Linked DNA regions of Homo sapiens: regions 2, 3 and 4 are each linked to region 1. The links are contacts of gene promoters, found by promoter capture Hi-C in blood cells and fetal thymus (Javierre and others, 2016). All regions are on one chromosome and are shown on one strand. Each heading gives the region's core, a stretch centred on a gene start or on the middle of the fragment in contact. The rest is flanking DNA. Distances are from core to core; before and after follow the strand shown. Region 1 holds the start of MED4 (mediator complex subunit 4). Region 2 has its middle 31 kb from the start of ESD. Region 3 has its middle 12 kb from the start of ESD. Region 4 has its middle 26 kb from the start of HTR2A-AS1.

Region 1 (5,135 bases), core at 1,489-3,988:
CCTCCCAAAGTGCTGGGATTACAGGCATGAGCCACTGCGCCCGGCCTAGTGTTTCATTCTAAATGCAATGAGAAGCCACTGGGTTATTTTAAACAGGGAAATGGCATGACCTGATTTATACTTTTAAAAACTGTTGAGTGATCTGGTAAATAGACTGTAAGAGGGCCAGAACAGGAAGTAAGTTAGGTGGTTTCTGTAGTGTTCCAGGCAAAAAATGACACTGGTTTTGACGAGGTTATAGCCTCCAGGACTTAGTAATCGTGATGGGAGAAACATGGACAGATTTCAGATATCTTTTGGAGGTAGAGCTAACAGGACTTGCTGATGGATCAACAGCGTATGAAAACAGCATGTTAAGTAAACTTTTTAGTGTACGCCACAAGTGAGACATAGACGGTTGAGAACCTCTGGTCTAAGTAAAAGCTGGTTTCAGGTGGGGCAGGAGTGGTGCTGACTAGAGTGGGGCTATGGTAGGAGATGTGGGATAAGCCTTCCTCTGTTCTTGCAAATCTGGGAGCGTGAGTCCACAGAAGGCTTTACAAGGCTTGCCTTAGGCGCCGGAGTAGAGGGGAGGTAGAAGTCTCTAAGACTTAGTCATGTTCTGTAACAGTCCAGGACAAAATAGAAACCCCTGTCCTCCCCAACTGCGAAAAAGAGGCCAAAGGAAGCCCCCACACTCAAGAGCCCTGTCCTGCTAAAAAGAAGGTGCATTCCCAGCATACTGCATTAGAATCCAGACACAATTCCCCATAGAAATAAAATTTCCATAGCGGTTAGAGCCTACATTATTAGCAGTAATACACTTTTCAGGTAAACAGAATTAACAGGCTGGTGTGGAAAACTCAAGATTCCTATCAACATGGTTCTGTGGAACAATGAGTTTTGAGTTACAAATGGGTTAAAAAAAACGTTTAGCCTACAACCTGTGTTTCAACTTTTTAAGACTATCTCCTTGCATTACATTTTATAAACTAATAAATATCCCGAAAGGCTATATAATCAGGTTAATAGAAAAAAAAAGATCCTAAGTTATAAATCCACTATTTTTAAAGAGGCTAAATCTAAAAATATGTAAGGTATATTCGTGATTTTTCTTCTCATTTTCATAAATGCAAGCCAGACACAAATTACATTCAGAGACTGACAAACTTCACAGATCACAGAATCAGTACACATAACTACCTCTGAGTGAACACATGAGACCTTTCTGGAAGCCAGTCACACCACCAGAGCAGCTTCATTCTGTGAAGAAGTTCCAATGATCCGCCCGCCTTGGCCTCCCAAAGTGCTCGGATTATAGGCGTGAGCCACCACACCCGGCCCTAATACAGTTTATTTTAAACAGTGGATCAAACACATAAGCCATTTAATTTCTGCTGTCTAGGTGTTTTCGGGTTTTCTTCCATCATTAAATATTGTGCTGACCTGGTAACTTGGTAGCAATACGATGGCAAGGACTAAATTTACACCAAAAATAAAGTGCTGATTATATCACGTATATTTTAAAATACAACAGGTAAGATTTATTCTAAAGCTGTCAAAGAATGTTGGCTATAGAAAAAGTGACATTTGAGCTGGATTCTGAAGGATATATGAATCATTCACCAAATCGGGAGTAGACTGGGAATGGCACTGAAGATGTGGAAGTCTGACTAAAGAATTTGAACTTTACCTCACTGGACAACGCAAACCTACCAATGAGGTAGCTTTTATATAATTTTTCTGCAGAAAAGTGATATAAGATGCCTTTTAAAACTGGTATCGGCCAATATAAAAGGATAAAGTGCAGAAGCATGAGGCAATTAAAACTGTTTGGGAGGCTACATTTAAGAAGGAGTTATGAACAGCGGGGTTGGAACGAGAGGGCAAATTGGAGCGACACTTTAGGAGGTAGAACCAAGATAATTTACCATCCAAGTCAATGGGAGGGAGTCAAGGAAGGCTTCAACTTGAAAGACTTATCATGAAAGGTGACAGAATATGAAGAACGACATCTAATTTCATCTCCTATCTCTGACACACAACCATCCTAAACAACTTGCAACTCCACCAAGCCAGGCTTTTTGCACTTGCTGTTCCATCTATCTGTGCTGCCTAGTGAGTTTGGCGAGCTCATGCTTCCCAAGCAGCACTTTCTTCAGAGGGCCTGCCCTGACTACAACCAAAAAAGGTGCCTAGTCCCTGTGCTCCAGTACCCCGCAGCGCAGCCCTCTAATAAAAACAGGCCCCAAGCCAGTTTACACATCTGTCTCTCTCTCGACAGCTGGCATCCAGTCTACCCTTCACTACCGTCTCCCCAATGCTGAGCCCCCAAGGAGCGTTCCATAAATGTTAAGTGGCTGGCCGCGGACGAAGAGGCTCAGACCGCGCGAGTTCTTATCATTACTAAAATTCCCTCTAACGGGAAAAACCGCCGCCCAGAGTGCCAGAGGGCTGCGGACCCCACGTCCATGACCCTCATGCACCCGAAACTCCCGAGCTGGCCCTCCCCGCCGAACCCCGAGAACGAGCACAAACGCAGGGCCGGCCGGCTCCGGGGTCAGTCCCCCGGCCCAGCTCCAGCCCGGCTCTCAGGCTCGCCGCATTACCTAGACAGGACCTCCAAGTCCTCAAGCGCAGACAGCAGCCGCTCTCGTGTGCTGTTACCACCCGCCACTCCCAAACCGCCTCCCAGCCGCTCCTTCTCCTTCTCACCACTCGAAGACGCAGCCATTTTCCCCAGAGTCCCGCCACCGGCGCACGCGCAGAGCGAGCTGACGCAGGTGCGTGGCGAGAAGGCGGGCTCGGAAGGCGGAAGAGTCACCCAGGAGAGGAAAAAGAGGCCTGGCGAGAGCGCCCCCTTTGGGCCTGGAGGCGCACTGCGGACACCGGCGCCATCTGTTGGGCCGGCGAGGGCTTTCTGGTCCAAACCCTGGGAGCGACAGCTGAACTGAGAACAGTGGGGGCAACGCAGTCTGATTCTCCTGGGCCTAATGGTTTTTTTTCTTTCTTTCTTTCTTTTTTTTTTTTTGAGACGAGTCTCGCTCTGTTGCCCAGACTGGAGTGCATCGCCGCGGATGTCTTGGCTCACTGCAAGTTCCGCCTCCTGGGTTCACGCCATTTTTCCTGCCTCAGCCTCCCGAGTAGCTGGGACTACAGGCGACCGCCACCACGCCCGGCTAATTTTTTGTATTTTTAGTAGAGACGGGGTTTCACCTTGTTAGCCAGGATGGTCTCAATCTCCTGACCTCGTGATCCGCCTGCCTCAGCCTCCCAAAGTGGTGGAATTACAGGCGTGAGCCACCGCACCCGGCCCACCTTAACCATTTTTAAGTGGATAGTTCAGTGGCATTAAATACATTCATACTGTTGAGCAACTATCCATCTCCAAAACCTTTTATCTTGTAAAACAAACTCTGTACTCACTAAATGCTAACTCCTTATCCCTCCCTTCTCCAGGCCCTGGCAACCACCATTCTACTTTCCATTGCTGTAAGTTTGGCTACTCTAGGTACCTCATATAAGCAGAATCATACAGTATTTGTCTTTTTGTGTCTGGCTTATGTCACTCAGCATTATGTCCTCCAGGTTCATCCATGATGTAGCATGTGCTGGAATATCTTTCCTTTTTAAGACTAATATTCCATTGTATGCATATGGCACCTTTTGTTCATCCATTCATCTGACGATGGACAGTTAGGTTACTTCCACATTGCTATAATCCATCTTTATAGCCATACATCTTCCAACAAAATGTTTTGCTCATTACTCAGGTTAATTATTGAACTGAAGGAACCAATACAGTACATAAGTAGTAGTTAATTAACATAGTTTAAGTCATTGATGTACCACACATTCCAAACCAGAACTGGTTGTCAAAGGCAAAAATACGTCTTAGCCTACTTTTCCTAGGGATAACAATGTAGTAGGGATCACTCTCTACCAGAAAAAAGCAAAGTTACAAGCCTATTGGGAATGAGGATTCCATATTGCTATTATAAAAGATGGTCTGGGACTGCCTCACTCCCATGAGGTAGTAGTACCTGTAGTCCTTTCATTTCAGGGTCTCATCCTCTACTCTGTCTTTTTGGAGGTGCTAAACCTGACTCCTGGGCACCCAGAGTTGACAAGTCTTTTAGAAATTCATGTTAAATAAATTCACTCATAGCAACTGCTGCGTAATCTAGAATGCTGATTTACTCACTTACGATGAAAAGTAATAGTGCCAAACATATCTTTTTCCCATAGACAAAACTATATGAGAAGCCATATTATCACAGGATGTTGCTTGTTAAACTTGGATCAGAACAAACAAGGATAGATTAAAAATTAATGACACAATCATGAGGCTTTGTGTCTCCACAGTGTAGGGATATTTGTGTTCAAGAGATTGGATTATTTGTGTTCATAGGTCAGGGTACCTTTTCCTCTAGACAGTGCAAGAGATCCTTGTCACCTTTTGTTTTCTGACCGTTCCCTGCATCTGCTGTTGGCTAACCCTTTTTTGTTAATGCAGTCAATTCTCAGGCAATGGGCTAAAGTAGATTGAAGCTTTGTTCATTACACTTGCATTCTAAACATGCCTCTCAGTACTCTAGTCAATCATTTCTTATGTTAAGTTTCCAGGGTGCCAAACTTCTGCGGTATGTGTTGGTTTTGTTTACTCAACTCTCACGGGTCATATTGAGCCATGACTCTGGTAGGAGGAGAGAGAACATTATATTAGTGTAAACATAAAAATTCTAGAAGGATTCTAATTAGTTAAAAATGACCAATTATAGTCCTACTTTGCAGACACTGAGGATCAGTGTGTGGAGCATGTATGTGTATTGTGAACTCCTGACCTCCTCAGATTTATTGCAAATTCATATGCATATTAAACAGTTTCTATAGACTGATAAGTAATAGCATCTTTCACAGATATACTGTCTTGCAAATTGTACAAATCCAGGCGTGATAAACAAATATGAATTATTTTATATAGTATTACTGAATTCATGGTAATTTGGAGTTAGGTACATATTTTCTCAATCTGTAGATTCAAAAAGGACACTACTTTCTCATGAAATTTTATTGACATGGTGGGCAGTGTTCTAAGCACTTCAAAAATATTAACTTGTTTAATTTTCCTAACACTCCTATGAGGTAAGTACTGT
Region 2 (5,135 bases), core at 1,107-3,606, 1.3 Mb before region 1:
AGCTAATTTTTTTTTTCTTCTATTTTTTGTAGAGACAGTGTCTCATGGTTACCCAGGCTGGTCTCAAACTCCTGTTTAAGCAACCCTCCTACCTTAGCCTCCCAAAGTGCTGGGATTGCAGTTGTGAGCCACTGAGCCCGGCCTATTTTACATTTAAAGCAGGGCATGTTCTGTCGTCTGTCAGGTCTTATTTGAATATAACTAAGAAAATGGGTGATTTGCTATTCATCCTAGAAAACTTTTTAAGAGTGCACGGTATATTTATTGTGCTTCTCCTAAAAGAAACACTGGGTGGCAGTGTTTTTACTCAAATGTTTTCAGAAGAGACCCAAAAGGAAAAGGCTTTCCTCTTTAAGGAATATTAATCCCATTGAACCAGCAATGACTAATAAGGCAATCTGCCTTCAATCAACCACGTGAACAGCCTGGGGTCAATATTACAACTCTAAATGCAGGGTTTAAATGCACACACACACACACACACACACACACACACACACACACACACACACACACACAAAATAATACACCCCAAAACCAGAATGCCCAAAATAATATCTAGGATAAATTGGAAAAAAAAAAGTCCCTTGCCTCACCCACTTCCCAGCTCCATGCCTCATTTTTAGGGGTATTTGAATTTTTCTAATAAGCCCAATAAGATGAAAATGTTACTTTATTTGGTTGAGTATACTATTATCATCCAACAAAGAAAGTGCTAGAACTCTATTTTCTTTATGTACTATCACCAGAAAGTGAAGCTCATTAAGTGTCGTTAGAGACAGAAGCTGCCACCTGGTGCCAAAGAGACACAAATGAAATCGAAAATTCACTGGTCATGGATTGGAATCCCAGAGTTGGGCCAAATACAACAACAAATAAAAAAATATATATCTGATAAGCAAAAGACATTTTCTCTTGGACTAGCAGGGCTATGAAAGGATGAGAAATTTACAAACTATGTTCTCTCTTCGAGGAAAATATTTTATTTCTATAGCCAACCATTCTTTGTACTGGCAGAGTAGAAACTAATAGCGCAATAGATAATCTGTGTGTTGGTGCTCACAATGTTGTCTCCTCTCACTTAAAAAGTTGTGGTTTAAAAAGTAAGCTTAAAAAGAAATTTGGGAGGCACATTTGCCACACACACCCATACTATATGACTTTTAATTTATAATTGTATACATTAGCATACCAATATGCTATGTATATTATAAGGCATGCACAAAAATAGAAATTTTAACAGGAGATGATGAAATAAAAATAAATATAGACAGAAGCTCTAATCCTGTCCATTGGATGGTCTTGTGCACCCCTGAAGGACGGCACGGGTCACTTTGAAGTTCAATGGCCCTAATGCATCTAGTCACTAACATCTGGATAAGATGACAGAGATTTCATGTGGGTATCTTGTCTTGCTACACAGCCCTGGGAGTTAGTGTAGGGGTTTTTGTTTATTTACTCTGCTTTCCAGTGAGGAATTGGCCTTTGAAAGATGCAATGACTGGCCTGAAGTACCTTTGGGAGGCAGGACCTTACAAGGGTTTCTTCTCCTGAAAGTCTCATTATTCACACAGTCAGCTATGTTAATTCTATTTTTTTTTTTTAATTCCAATGTGTTTTTGAACCAGAACTTAAGTTCTCAGAAATACAAAGTAAGAAGCATGAAAATGTGTTTCTGGACCTTGGCACAGATGAGTGTAAGCACTGTTCTTTCTGATTTTCAACATTTATTAGTGTTTAAAATTAGTATTTTACAACTGAAAATATACATGAATAACTTTTTCTGTAAAAATGATATAATCCACCAAAAATAAAGCTTTTCTGGCTGTTATTTTCAACTCTGGTGCCCTCCTCCTCTTTCCCAGAAGTAACTCATTATTTCCATTCAGAACTTTTCCCATGAAATATATTTGTACCTATAGCAAAATACATATTGTTTTGATGGCTTGTGAAAATGTAAACAGTGTCAAATTTTTCACCAACTTACTTTGATTCTTAAATATTTGGGGTTGTTTTCGTATTTATTACAAACAAGGCTGCAATGCATGCCTTTACACAGGCCTCCTTTTGTATATCTTTCTCCACAAAGCTACTGAAAAATAATTTGGCAGCACCATTTACAGAAAGGCTCATGTTTTCCTCACTGATTTGAGACATTGCTATTAACATACGCTAAATTTCTGTGTGGGTCTGTGGCAGGACTTTTCTGATGGGATGAACTCTTCTGAGTCCAAACCCGTTTTAATTATCACAGCTTTATAATGTCTTGACAACTGGCAGAGCAATTTGTTCTCTCTCAAGCCGTCTTGGCATATTCTTCCATATAAATTTTATAATTAGCTTGTCAAGCTCCATGAACAACTTTGAGATTTTGATTAAGATTATATTGCATTTGTAGATTAATCTGGGGTATGTTTGTAGCTTTACAATATTGAGAGTTTTATTCCATGAATATGATATTGCTTTCCATTTAAGACTTACTTTATTTGCTAGAGGTATTATACAATTCTGGTTTGAGTTCTTTCTAGGTAGTTTTTTGTTGCTGCTGTGAATAGGATCATTTTAAAATAATTTTTATTAAACATAGACTTATAGAAAAATCACTAATTTTGAGACAGTTATATTGTTTCTAGCCACTTTACGAAACTCTTACTGGTTCTAACACTTTGTCCTCCATTTCGACTGTAGTGGATGCCTCTTTTGTCATGGTCCCCTGTGCTGCTGTGGCCATCGCTGCATCTTTACTTCCCCCCACCACCCCCCCGGCAACCTCTGCCAATGTCTTCTTAGCTACTGCTGTTGCCATCCCCATCACTGGAACACCAACAGTGACATTTCCTTTCTTCATCCGAAACCCCAATTCTTCAGATTACTTGGAGGCTAGGCTTCAAAAATGAAAGCTTAAAAAAAAATCTGGCTGTTTTAATTTTAAAGTGGCTTTCATTGCAGAAGGTCGATAAAACAATGTAATCTGTTACATACTGTATATACCCAGTGTGCCTAAATACAAGACAACCTTGAACATGAGAGGATCTGCATTTTTCTTTTTCTTTTTTTTTATTTTTTGAGATGGAGTCTCGCTCTGTCACCTAGGCTGGAGTGCAGTGGCACGATCTTGGCTCACTGCAACCTCTGCCTCCCGGGTTCAAGCGATTCTTCTGCCTCAGCCTCCTGAGTGGTTGGGATAACAGGTGCACGCCATGATGCCAGGCTAATTTTTGTATTTTTAGTAGAGATGGGGTTTCACCACGTTGGCCAGGCTGGTCTCAAACTCCTGACCTTGTGATCCACCTGCCTCAGCCTCCCAAAGTGCTGGGATTACAGGTGTGAGCCACTGCGCCTGGCCTGGATCTGCATTTTTCTAATGATAACATCCAAAACTTTGGCTAATTCGAATACATTTATACATTTTTAAATATATAATTCATGCCTACTTGTCACAGATTTTATATGTATACTTTAAAAATACTTGAGATATGTCAGCTTGGAAATATTAAATATTCTGTTGTAAGATTTTATGACATGGTTTTATCTAAACTCATTTGCATCGTCAATATCAGTAACATCACTACAGCCATTTTTTTCTGGGGGAGGGGGCAGATAGAGTCTCAGTCCGTTGCTGGAGTGCGGTGGTGCAATCTCAGCTCACTGCAACCTCTGCCTCCCAGGTTCCAACGATTCTCCTGCCTCAGTCTCCTGAGTAGCTGGGATTAAAGGCACCTGCCACCACACCTGGCTAATTTTTGCATTTTTAGTAGAGATGGGGTTTTGCCATGTTGGCCAGGCTGGTCTCAAACTCCTGACCTCAAGTGGTCCACCCACCTCGGCCTGCCAAAGTGCTGGGATAACAGATGTGAGCCACCACGCCTGGCCTACAGCCACTTTTTGCAGCAACTTTTCACATCACCTTCACTTCTAAGTGGTTTGAGATACAATATTACTTGAATTGATAAACGATGTAGCCACTGGAAATTGTATCCCCCAAGATAAGTATTCTTTGCAATAACATCAGGATTTTTAAATTCTTCATGCAGTAGTATATTTATGATCTTCACAGCATAACTACTTAATATACTTTTAATGTAAACCTTATTAAAGTATAACACATATTAAAAAGTTTATAAATCCTAAGTGTATGGCCTGATGAATTTTCAGTGAACATGCTCATGTACCAAGCACCTGGATGAAGATAGCATCACCAGTACTCTCTCCTGCCATGCTCCAATCACCTCTCCCTCAGAATGCCCCCCACCACCCCCTTCCATTGCCTTGCTATGTGTAACACCTCCTGTCTTCAATACTATGCATATAAAATGGTACCAAGTTATTATATAGCACATAATTTGGTGTCAGGATTCTTTCTTCCAGATTATGATTGAGACCCCATCCATGTTGCTGCATCCAGTTATAGTGTGTTTATTTTTATTCATGTAGAATATTTCATTGTATGAATATGCTCCAATTTTACTAATTCTGTTATAGATGGATTCAGGTTATTTCTAGATTTTGGCCATTGTAAATGGTGCTGCTGTAAACATTCTCATGTAGCCATAATGTTCCTGTTAAGTACAGAAACATGCATTGAAAGGCTATAGGAGACGTGCTAAGTAAGGTCTGAGGCCTCATCAGACCTTACCAGTTTGCTAAGGTTGAACTAGACCTTAGCAGATCCTGCCAGATTGCACCTTATTAGCAGTATAATTCAGGTCGCCATGTTTCCTTGTCAACACCTGGGATTTTCCATTGTCTGAACTTTAGCCATTCAGGTGGGTGTGTAGGTTCATTGCATTGTAGTTTTTATTCGTATTTCCCCAGTCTTACTAAGCACATTTTCAGGCATTCATTAGCCATATTTGTCCTATTTTGTTAAGTACAAATTTTTTGCCAAATTTTATGTTTTTAAGAATTTGTGAGAGTTCTTCAGGCATTCTAGATACAAGTTATTTGTCAGATATATGTGTTGCAAGCATCTCCATCTACTTTGTGGCTTGTCCTTTTACTCTTCATGGTGGTGGCTTTACAGTATTACGTTTCTTCAAGAACATAATCTTCACAAGGGTCTTACATTGAACATAATCCAGGAAATGTCAGATTCCTTTACCTCCTTTTATACCTGATTGTCAGGTGACTTCTAG
Region 3 (5,135 bases), core at 1,312-3,811, 1.3 Mb before region 1:
GAATAAAGTTTTACCCATTACTGTAGCATTCCAGTATTTACTTTAATTACAATGTTTAAATAAAGGTTTTCTTTTCTCCTCTTTTACTTCTCATTTCTCTCTTTCTGGGGATATGTTTGGCTCTTACTGCAATTAATTGTCCTTCAATCATTTTTAGAAGATGGAGTAGGAGGGTCAAATTATAAATTAATTGATAAAAGTTATGTCTTTAATTTGTAATACAGGTGATTTAAGGGCTACGCTGAATATGTAGTGGTTTTTGTGTATGACCTAGAAGCAGTTTAAAAATTCAAGTGTGAGTTATTTTGCTATTTACTTTTTGTGCTTGACAAAGGAGTCTAGGAGTAATCAAAAGCTTATTTTAGGTTTAATCTACTTTTGTTTTTATAAACTATGTTTAATAAAACATCTAATGGCTTATTTTATAGCACAGCTAACTAGAGAAGAGTTTTTGCACATTTTAACATTTTACATTGATAAAATATGACAGATCTAGCAACTCTAGGTTGACACCTTGAGATAATCTATGCCTCTGATTATTTTTGAAACATTATTGTATTTGAGATCTTATTTTTTTATTTTTGTTTTTATGTGTTAGTTTGGAAATGTGACGTGGGAGGCTGCTCCAATTTCCAAATATCATGGGTAAATAGAATTTACATTTCATAGTTACATATACATTTATTTTGCTACTGATTTAATTTTGTATCCCTTCTACAAATATTTTATGAACTATGTAAAATCAGTTCTGACTTTCACTCACTAAACTCAAAAATACTTTCTCAATAGCTGGGGATAGTGGTGCACTTCTATAGTCCTAGCTACTCTGAAGGCTGACACGGGAGGATGGAGTCTATCTTGGGCAACATAGCAAGACCCGCTTTCTTTTTCTTTTATTTCTTTTTTTTAAATTATATTTTAAGTTCTGCAATACATGGGCAGAACATGCAGGTTTGTTACATAGGTATACAAGTGTCATGGTGGTTTGCTGCACCCATCAACCCGTCATCTACATTAGGTATTTCTCTTAATGCTATCCCTCCCCTAGCCCCCAGCCCCTGACAGGCACCGGTGTGTGATGTTCCCCTCCCTGTGTCCATGTGTTCTCATTGTTCAACTCTCACTTATGAGTGAGAACATGTGGTTTTTGGTTTTCTGTTCCTGTGCTAGTTAGCTGAGAATGATGGTTTCCAGCTTCATCCGTGTCCCTGCAAAGGACATGAACTCATCTCTTTTTATGGCTTCATAGTATTCCATGGTGTATATGTGCCACATTTTCTTTATCCAGTCTATCACTGATGGGCACTGGGGTTGGTTCCAAGTCTTTGCTATTGTGAACAGTGCTGCAATAAACATACGTGTGCATGTGTCTTTATAGTAGAATGATTTATAATCCTTTGGGTATATACCCAGTAATGGGATTGCTGGGTCAAATGGTGTTTCTGGTTCTAGATCCTTGAGGAATCGCCACACTGTCTTCCACAATGGTTGAACTAATTTACACTCCCACCAACAGTGTAAAAGTGTTCCTATTTATCCACATCCTCTCCAGCATTTGTTGTTTCCTGACTTTTTAATGATCTCCATTCTAACTGGAGTGAGATAGTATCTCATTGTGGGTTTGATTCGCATTTCTCTAATGACCAGTGAAGATGAGCTTTTTTTCACATGTTTGTTGGCTGCATAAATGTCTTCTTTTGAGAACTGTCTGCTAGTAAATGGCAGAGCTGGGATTTGCTTCCATCAGTTGAAATCCTGAGTTTGTGTGCTTAACTGCCATTCCATACCGCCAATAATAATAATACTCTTCATCAATAATAATCATGATGAAGATACTGATCCTATACATTATTTTTGTTATCAAAGCATTCTAGACTGAACAAATTAATACTTTCCCCTAGTCACAACTAATGAAAACAACAAGGAATTAATTTTAAAAATATAAAAAATTAGGTGCAAGAATATGGCTTTATTTTATGTCACTGGGCAAAGTAAATTTGTTTGTTATATCTCTGGATCTCTAGTTATACTATTATCCATTAATTTATTCTTTCACCCACAAGTAGTCATTGATTGCTTACCATACGCAAGGTACTTTTCTAGATACTGGAAATACAGAAATAGACAAATCAAAGTCTCTGCTTTCATAGGGCTTACTTTTTCTTTTTTTCTTTTCTTTTGAGACAGGGTCTCACTGTTAACTAGGCTGGAGTGCAGTGGTGCAACCACACCTCACTGCAACCTTGACCTCCTGGGCTCAAGTGATCCTCCCATCTCAGCCTCTTATGTAGCTGGGACTACAGGCATTGCCACCATGCCTGGCTAGTTTTTTTTTTTCTTTTTTCTTTTTTTTGTAGAGATGGGGTCTTGCTGTGTTGGCAGGGCTGGTCTTGAACTCCTGGATTCAAGTGATCCTCCTGCCTTGGCCTCCCAAAGTGCTACGATTACAGGTGTGAACCACAGTCCAAGCTTACTTTTTCTAAAAGCATGGGAAAATACTATTATTTCTCAGTAAAACAAATCTTTTTTATATATATTAACTCAGTTAACATCATCAAATATCTTTGCATAAAGTTAATTTTGTCTTTACAGAGTATAAACTGATTCACAAGGAGATACATGACCTTAGTCAAGGCACTGGTACAGCTAGAAATAAAGCTTAAGTTTAGATTGCTATGAACCCAAGTGATCTGGCTCCAGCTCAAATACTAGATAAGCCTAATTTCTTGGAGCAGAACGAAGCTTGCAAAAAAGCAATATTTGTCCCACAAAATGGAACCTGATTACTGTTTGTGAATGTCAGCTGCTTTTAGCCCACACTAGTTCAGTTGTACTTGAGAAGACACAGCCAAGATGTCTCAATAATTATTAAATTCTGACTTTTTCCAGTCTACCTCCTACTAAAGTAATCCATATAACCTGGAAGTCAGCAATGTTGCAGAAACCCTCTAGAAGCATTATACTGTGAATAAGAGACATGGTTAAACAGCCAGATCTGGCCAGGCACGGTGGCTCACGCCTGTAATCCCAGCACTTTGGGAGGCCGAGGCAGGTGGATCACGAGGTCAGGAGATGGAGACCATCCTGGCTAACACGGTGAAACCCCGCATCTACTAAAAATACAAAAAAATTAGCCGGGCGCGGTGGCGGGCGCCTGTCGTCCCAGCTACTCGGTAGGCTGAGGCAGGAGAATGGCGTGAACCCGGGAGGCGGAGCTTGCGGTGAGCCGAACTCGCGCCACTGCACTCCGGCCTGGGCGACAGAGCGAGACACCGTCTCAAAAAAAAAAAAAAAAAAAAAAGAGCCAGCTCTAACAGTGCTTTCATTGAAATCAATAAGGGGAAGAAAGAACAGAGTTTAAAAGACTGAGTAAAATGACTTAGCAGAGATAGTAACATGAGAAAAAGAGGAGAGATGTTTATAAACCAGAACCTGATTTGGAATGGAAGAAATGGGAAATAGTGCCAAGATTATTTTAAATTTATTGGAAATGGGAAGGGAATAGTAGCAACATTATCATTATATTTGAACTGACTGGTATAGAAAGGACAATTCTTGCAAAACTGCCAATTTTCTGGAGTTTCATAGGCTTGTATATTTGAGGAATACACTTGGGTGAAGTTACAGCTCACAAAACAATTTATATCTGATTTTAAATTTTATCTTGTTATCAAACTTGGCTAGTAAATGGGCTTTCTTTATAAATCTGGTCCCACATTTCTCAGAGTGACATTGAGAAACTCCAATTCCGTAGGATATTATTTAGATTTATGTTTCTGTGATTAAATGTGGGAATGGTAGGTTGAACAAAAGATGTCACCGAGTCCGAGTCTTCAAGGTGCTAGTTTACAGTATGCAACTCCCATTAGGGGGTTATAGTTTCTTTTTTTGTCTTTGGACATTCTGAAAGATTCATGTAGTCTGGAATGTACTCTGAGAAATATCAGTCTAGTTCACTGTTGGTCATGTCTCCATCAGATGACTCATAATAATTTTTTTCTGTTAATAAAGTCTTTAACGGTTCACATTTCCATAACAACTTGTCTCCCTTTAAAGTCCCAATATCGTAGTATCGCCTATTTCTTAGGAAATTCAGAGCTTAGAGCATTTTATATTTAATTGGTTTTTACTCCAGGGAAGTTTTTGTTTGTTTGTTTGTTTTTTTGTGACAGTGTCTTATTCCAGTTGCCTAGGCTGGAGTGCAATGGCATGATCACGGCTCACTGTAGCCTCAATTTTCCAGGCTCAGGTGATTCTCCCACCTCAGCCTACTGAGTAGCTGGGACTACTGGTGTGCACTGCCATGCTTGGCTATTTTTAAATTTTGTATAGAGACAGATGGGTTTTTGCCGTGTTGTCCAGGCTGGTCTTGAACTCCTGGGCTCTTTATCATTATGGAATGTCTTTGTTTGTTAATTGGAATGTTTAATCCATTTACATTTAATTTAACTATTGATGTAATTGGATTTGGGTCTACTTTTTTTCTATTTCTTTTCCATTTGTCCCACCTTTTAAACTTTATTTCTCCTTTCTAGCTTTCATTTGGGTTAATTGATTTTTTTTCATAATTCCACTTGAATTCCTCTATTAGCCTTTTAATTGTACCTGTTTCTGTTTTTAAGTGGGTTCTATAGGGATTATAATGTGCATTCTTAATTTATCACAGTCTACTTTGATTTAATATTATACCACTTTAATGTAAGAACTTTGTAACTGTATATTTCTATTTCCCCACTCCTCATTATTTTATTTCTTGTTATCATGACTCTTAGATCTACAAACATTATAAAACTATAGAAGTGTGCTATAGAAGTAGTATTGTAACTTTTACTTTAAATAGGCAAATATTTTATCATAATAAAATAATTAAGAGAAGAAGTGGCATAACACATCCTTTTAATATTTGCCACTTTCAGTATTCTTCATTTCTTCCAATACACATGAATTTCCTCCTGGTATCATTTCTTTCAGTCTGAAGATCTTGTAGCTTTCTTAGAGTTCAAATCTGCCTATAACAAATTCTCCCAATTTTTGTTTACTGAAAAAATGCCTTCATTTTGTCTTTACTTTTAAAGAATATTTTCATCGGTGGATATAGAATTTTAGGTTGCCATTTTTTTCTCTTTAAAAATGTT
Region 4 (5,135 bases), core at 1,969-4,468, 1.3 Mb before region 1:
GATATGACACAACCCCAGAAGGACTGAAAGACCTGTTTACCTGGCCCCTTGTGGGAAGGAGCCCATAGACCTTTAGAAACAGGTCCAGGCAGCAAAAGGGGAGACCTCCCCTTTTACACCCATGCTTGCCAAAGGGCCCAAAACAGTGATTGATTTTTTTTTAAGTTAAACTTGCTTCTTTATTGCAGGAATTCCCAGAAGTTTTATCTTAAAATATATTGTGAATCTTCTAGAAAGTTACAAAATACATTTCCTATTTTTTCTAGTTTTATTGAGATATAATTGACAAATAAAAATTTTATGTATTCAAGACGTACGATGAGATGATTTGCTATACATATATATTGTGTAATGATTACCACAGTCGAATTAGTTAACCCACTAGTCACCACACATAGTTACTGTGTATGTGTGTGTCGGGGGTGGTGAGGACACTTAAGATCTACTCTCTAAGCAGTAGTGACATCTGCATAGAGAGTAGATATAAGTGAGATCATACAGCGTTTGTCTTTGTGGATTGTGTTTTCCTTTGATAATCCACCTTATTATAAGAACACCAAGGCAGAAACGAGATGGGGATAGATTCATTTGAGAACCTTGCCAGACCTCACGTTGTAGTTTTGCTTCAGGCATGTTAGCTCTAGAGGTCTCTTTGTCCTCATTTTGGCCCTGCTTTCTGTTGGTTATAGTCAGGAAGGCCCCACTGAGAGGCAGTTACTTCTTTTTCCTCTAGCTAGTCATGTTAATAACCATCACATATTAAGTTCTATTATAGGTCAGACCATTCGAGAAGCTCTTCATAAACTACTTCTAATTCTTACAACTCCACAAGACATTATTATCTCCATTTAGCAGATGTACCTCATAGAGTTTAAGTAATTTTCTTACATAGCCAGTACATTAAATAGAGAATTTGAAGTAATGTCTATGTAACTCCTAAGGCCATGCTCTTTCAAATATTCTTCTAAATCTTTTAGAATTAGATTGAAAATACAACCTCACATAATGTCCTTTCTGTGAACTTTGTCTTTGTAACATTCTCTAAAAGTAAAGTACCCAAGCTCTATTGCGTAGATTTTTTCTTATTGTTGCAAACCTAAGGGATATGAAATAACTAATTCTCATTGTACTACAAGGGAAAATATTTTATTCCTTTATTTTTATTAATGTCCAATTCCCTCATTTATTCTTAGAGTTTTGGTTTGTAGAGAATTAAATCCATGGTCTTCTCGGGCATAATCTGGCCACCCTCCAGGGGGCTGCAGGTACAGGAGTCATCCTATGTTTTTCTTCTCATGGTTATGAATTATAACATTGGTGGATCCGAGAGTTGTAGGACTCTGTTGCCCCAGTGATACAAATGTTTCAGCTACTAAATGATTTTCTCCTCCACTGGGGCTTGGCAGATTTTTCTAAATTGTTAAATTTTCATTAGATTATAATGTGGCTGTTTTAATCATGGTGCACTGTGATTGCTTGTTGAGGTCATCAAATCACAATTCCCAGGGCAAGCCCTGGAAAAGCATCATTGAGATTGGTTCACCTCCCATCCATTGTTTTCCCAGGGTTTCAGATTCAAGCTTCTACATGTGTGTGTGTATGTGTGTGTGTGTGTGTGTGTGTGTTTTGCAACAACTATTTTGCCGATAACCCTATAAAAGAAAATTGGCTGACTCACTTCTGGTTATATTCTTTAAAGTGTCAACCTGTGGATAGGAAATTGGAAATAACTGTATTAGAAGGAAAAAATGTAAAGTAGGAAAAGGGAGTGCTGGTTAAAAGAGGTGGCTACCCTTGCCAGAAGAGTAAGTCAATAGATTTTCTCTCTTTTCAGATAAGGTATGATTAGCATTCAGACCCAGTGATGGATACACTCTAGCCCTCTGTGTGAAAACTCTTCTTCTGTCAAGAGATTCAGCTGGGGGAATATTCTGCATAGCCCACCACAGCTGATTGGATTGGGAAAGGCATCTGGCCATATCTGGTCAGTAGACTATAAGGGGAGCTTAGAACAAAGTCTCTGCCCATGTAGGGAGAACATGGACCAACCTAACCAGCTCTCTCTTAGAAATCTACACAAGTCAGTATAGAGAAGTTCATATAATTAGTGGCAGCTGTAGAAGATGAAAGTCCATGAGGTAGAGAGGTCATGGTGGACTGTAAGTGAGCACATGCTATATGTAAGAAGAAACCAAATGGAAACCAGCTGGTAGAGGGAAGATGAGTGAAAGAGACCCAGAGTGAAACAGGTTGAGAGAGAGTAGCTGGGTCCTATGGATGATTCAGGCCTTTGATGAAAATGGAGGAACTTGTGCCTGCATCCCTCCGGTAGCCTTTGATTTGGTCTGGGGTGGGTTATGTGTCTCTGAGCTTCTGTGAGGCCTATTTGACATCGATTCAAAACAATGATTCCTGTTTTCTCATTTCTGTGTGTATTCTGACAATAAGATCCATGTTCTCCGAAGAAACTTGGAGATTTTTCAATCTCCCTGATTTGTATTAATATCTATAACATTTATTTTAAATAGTAATTTTTCCAGTCAATATTTATTATTTTATTGATTAGCATAGGAAGTAGAAAGGGCATGTAAGAAATTTATTTTTGAACATACTTCTACAAATATAAAGGACATAGAGTTTATGCATTCTTCCTTACATTTAGGAGGAAGTTAATGTTACATACATTCTCTGTGCATGAAGGTGAGCTAAGAGAAAAGACAGCAATCAATATGTTATGATTCTATCTTACCAAATCAAGAATTTCCTTTAGAGAATTAACCATGTTGCTGATCACCACTTATCAACACTTATACTTATGGGTTGAAATTGTGTTTATTCAGCAAAGTCTAATTTACCCTGCATTGTAAGTTGAAGGCTTTAGAAGGAACTATTTCCTTCCCAAAGCTAGAGCTCTGCTAAGCTTCACTCTTCATTCTAACTAAGGCAAGACAGTCACAGGTATAATGCAAGCATGATAGAGATATGCTTTCATTCTTTTGGGTTAGGGAGGAAATAGAGCAAGTGGCTGAGAATAGAGATGTTGATTCAAAACCCAGCTCTATTACTTACTATGTGTGAGCTTGGATAGGTTAATCTCTAGTTTCCTTATATAGAACATGGAGATGATGATAATATCCACTGTATAGTGCTGGTATTGTAAGGATATATTAAAATATCTAACATAATACTTGACATTTACTAAGGGCTCAAATAAATAGATGTGATGGTAGTAGTAGTGTAGTAGTATATGTTGTTGTGGTTGTTGTGTTTGTGGTAATTATTGTTGCTGTTGTTGGATGGTAGTGTCCAGGGATTAGCTAACTATATAGTCCAGGCTCAAATCTGACCCAGAGTTTGTTTTTGTAAATAAAGTTTTATTGGAACATAGTCACATTCACTCATTTGCTTATTGTCTATGGCTGTTTTCACACCACAACAGAACCTAAAACATGTACTATTTGGCTCCTTATAGAAAATATTTTCTGATCTTTAGCACAGTGGAAATTAGAAACAGTAAAAGCTTATCATTTATATAGTCATGCTTGAGTTCCGATTCTTCTCCTTAGCTTGGTGGAATTGGTCAAATTTACCTTTGAGACTCAGTTTCCTCTATGGTTACTATGAGACATAGACACATTATTGTGATTAAATGTGTGAAATTAGCACAAAATTGTTGCTCAATAAGTATCAACTTCAGTGTCTTCCTTTGACATTCCTTCTGGTTTCCTTGTTGTAGTAAGAGAAATAGGTTGGATGTTTCTGGATTTAATCTCGCTGTTTCAAAAAATGTGAAAACATTGCTGGTTTATGCTTTATATATACATTATTGCCTACTACAAGTGGCTAGCTGTACTTTGCTCAAATTCTTAGAACCAAGTAGGACCACTCAAAGCTATTAGCAAAAGAAGCTGGTATTTAAGTCAAATAAAAAATATGCTCATTTAAGGCAGAAATAGTTATTTTGTCTTTCAAAGTTATTAAAGCAAATTTCTCAAAGCAGAATGTTATATAAATGTACTAATAGTTTCAATATTTTATTTATTATGCTTCATATAGATTGAAGTAAGTTGATATTTGCATCATGACAGTGATAATAATTCTAAGTTAGAGAAGATTTTTTTTCTTTATGAGTGGTTCCAATAGGTTTTCAGACTTAGGTCTATCTGGTGGAGAGGAGCTGGACAAAAAGTGTGTCATAGCTTCCACATTCTATTTTAGAGAAGTGTAGGAATAATTAATCATAGTCAAGTTCTCTGGTGATTATATTAGAGGAATAAATGTAGTGTTACATTTTCATGCAAATCAATCTTCTTGTTCTTCAGTCTTGGAAATGTTTAGTTGTTTTAATTTTGTCATACTTGTAATCACTTGTGAATAACATTTCCTATTTTTCTGCTAATTTGGAAAAAACCCCACCATCTTGTCTCTAGAAATTAAAGACTAATAAATGTATCCCCTTTTCAGAGTATCAGAGAGATACATCATTACATGTGTACATGCTGAACACATTTGTTTTTATATTTACTATTGTTTATTTTTTTCATTTCCTTTTTCGTCTTCTTAAAAATTCTTCTTGGATTGCTTATCTATGTTGACTAATTCCCATCTTTTAGATATTCTTCTTTATACACCCCATTGTGATCCTAGGTCTTAGAATGCAGAACTTTAACAATGGAGCCTGGAGATAGTGATATTGAACATTCTATCTAATTTTCATTTTTTCCTCATAAAACTAATTTTAAAATTCTATATTCTTAACACTTTTGCCATTGGCCCACACAACTTTGCTTTTCACCAGTGTCTAAAGTGGCTGAAACATCAGCATCGGGTGGTGGCAATGCCTTGAGGGATATCTTATCATATGCAGCATGGCATCTCTGGGTAGGCGTGTTAAGTTATCCTATATTACTTAGGCTAATTTGTGACAAAGTTGGTAGGCTCAATGAAATAAACAAACATTTTGTAAAGAGGTAGAATAATCTCCCCACCCAGTATCTTATTCAAGTTTTTTAAAAGAGTAATTCCATCCCTAGACTTCCCACACTTAGTGGTCTTACATAAAACATACACATAGCAGACCCTCACTAGCAAACCTATTAAGAGAATAAATGAGTTTGCAGCACTAGTTGCTCAAC

Evidence for each region. The method cuts DNA at HindIII sites, captures the fragments that hold promoters and counts their contacts. A CHiCAGO score of 5 or more calls a contact.
Region 2: a fragment that was not itself captured here is called in contact with the fragment with the promoter of MED4 in region 1 in 1 of 17 cell types (megakaryocytes); the score reaches 5.7 in megakaryocytes.
Region 3: a contact is called between a fragment that was not itself captured here and the fragment with the promoter of MED4 in region 1, in 1 of 17 cell types (megakaryocytes). The highest score is 5.5, in megakaryocytes.
Region 4: a fragment that was not itself captured here is called in contact with the fragment with the promoter of MED4 in region 1 in 1 of 17 cell types (megakaryocytes); the score reaches 5.6 in megakaryocytes.

The regions. Positions count from the first base shown.
Region 1 is chr13:48,092,366-48,097,500 of GRCh38, forward strand. MED4 (mediator complex subunit 4) reads right to left here and starts at 2,739. Exons shown (of 7, transcript NM_014166.4): 1 at 2,589-2,739. The coding sequence starts at 2,713. RefSeq lists a silencer at 1,948-2,242. The HindIII fragment of the contact is 8,460 bases long and covers 1-4,528 here.
Region 2 is chr13:46,763,960-46,769,094 of GRCh38, forward strand. No RefSeq gene overlaps it. Among named protein-coding and RNA genes, the nearest start is that of ESD, 31 kb to the right of the region's middle. The HindIII fragment of the contact is 1,084 bases long and covers 1,815-2,898 here.
Region 3 is chr13:46,806,673-46,811,807 of GRCh38, forward strand. No RefSeq gene overlaps it. Among named protein-coding and RNA genes, the nearest start is that of ESD, 12 kb to the left of the region's middle. The HindIII fragment of the contact is 189 bases long and covers 2,468-2,656 here.
Region 4 is chr13:46,823,409-46,828,543 of GRCh38, forward strand. No RefSeq gene overlaps it. Among named protein-coding and RNA genes, the nearest start is that of HTR2A-AS1, 26 kb to the right of the region's middle. The HindIII fragment of the contact is 600 bases long and covers 2,919-3,518 here.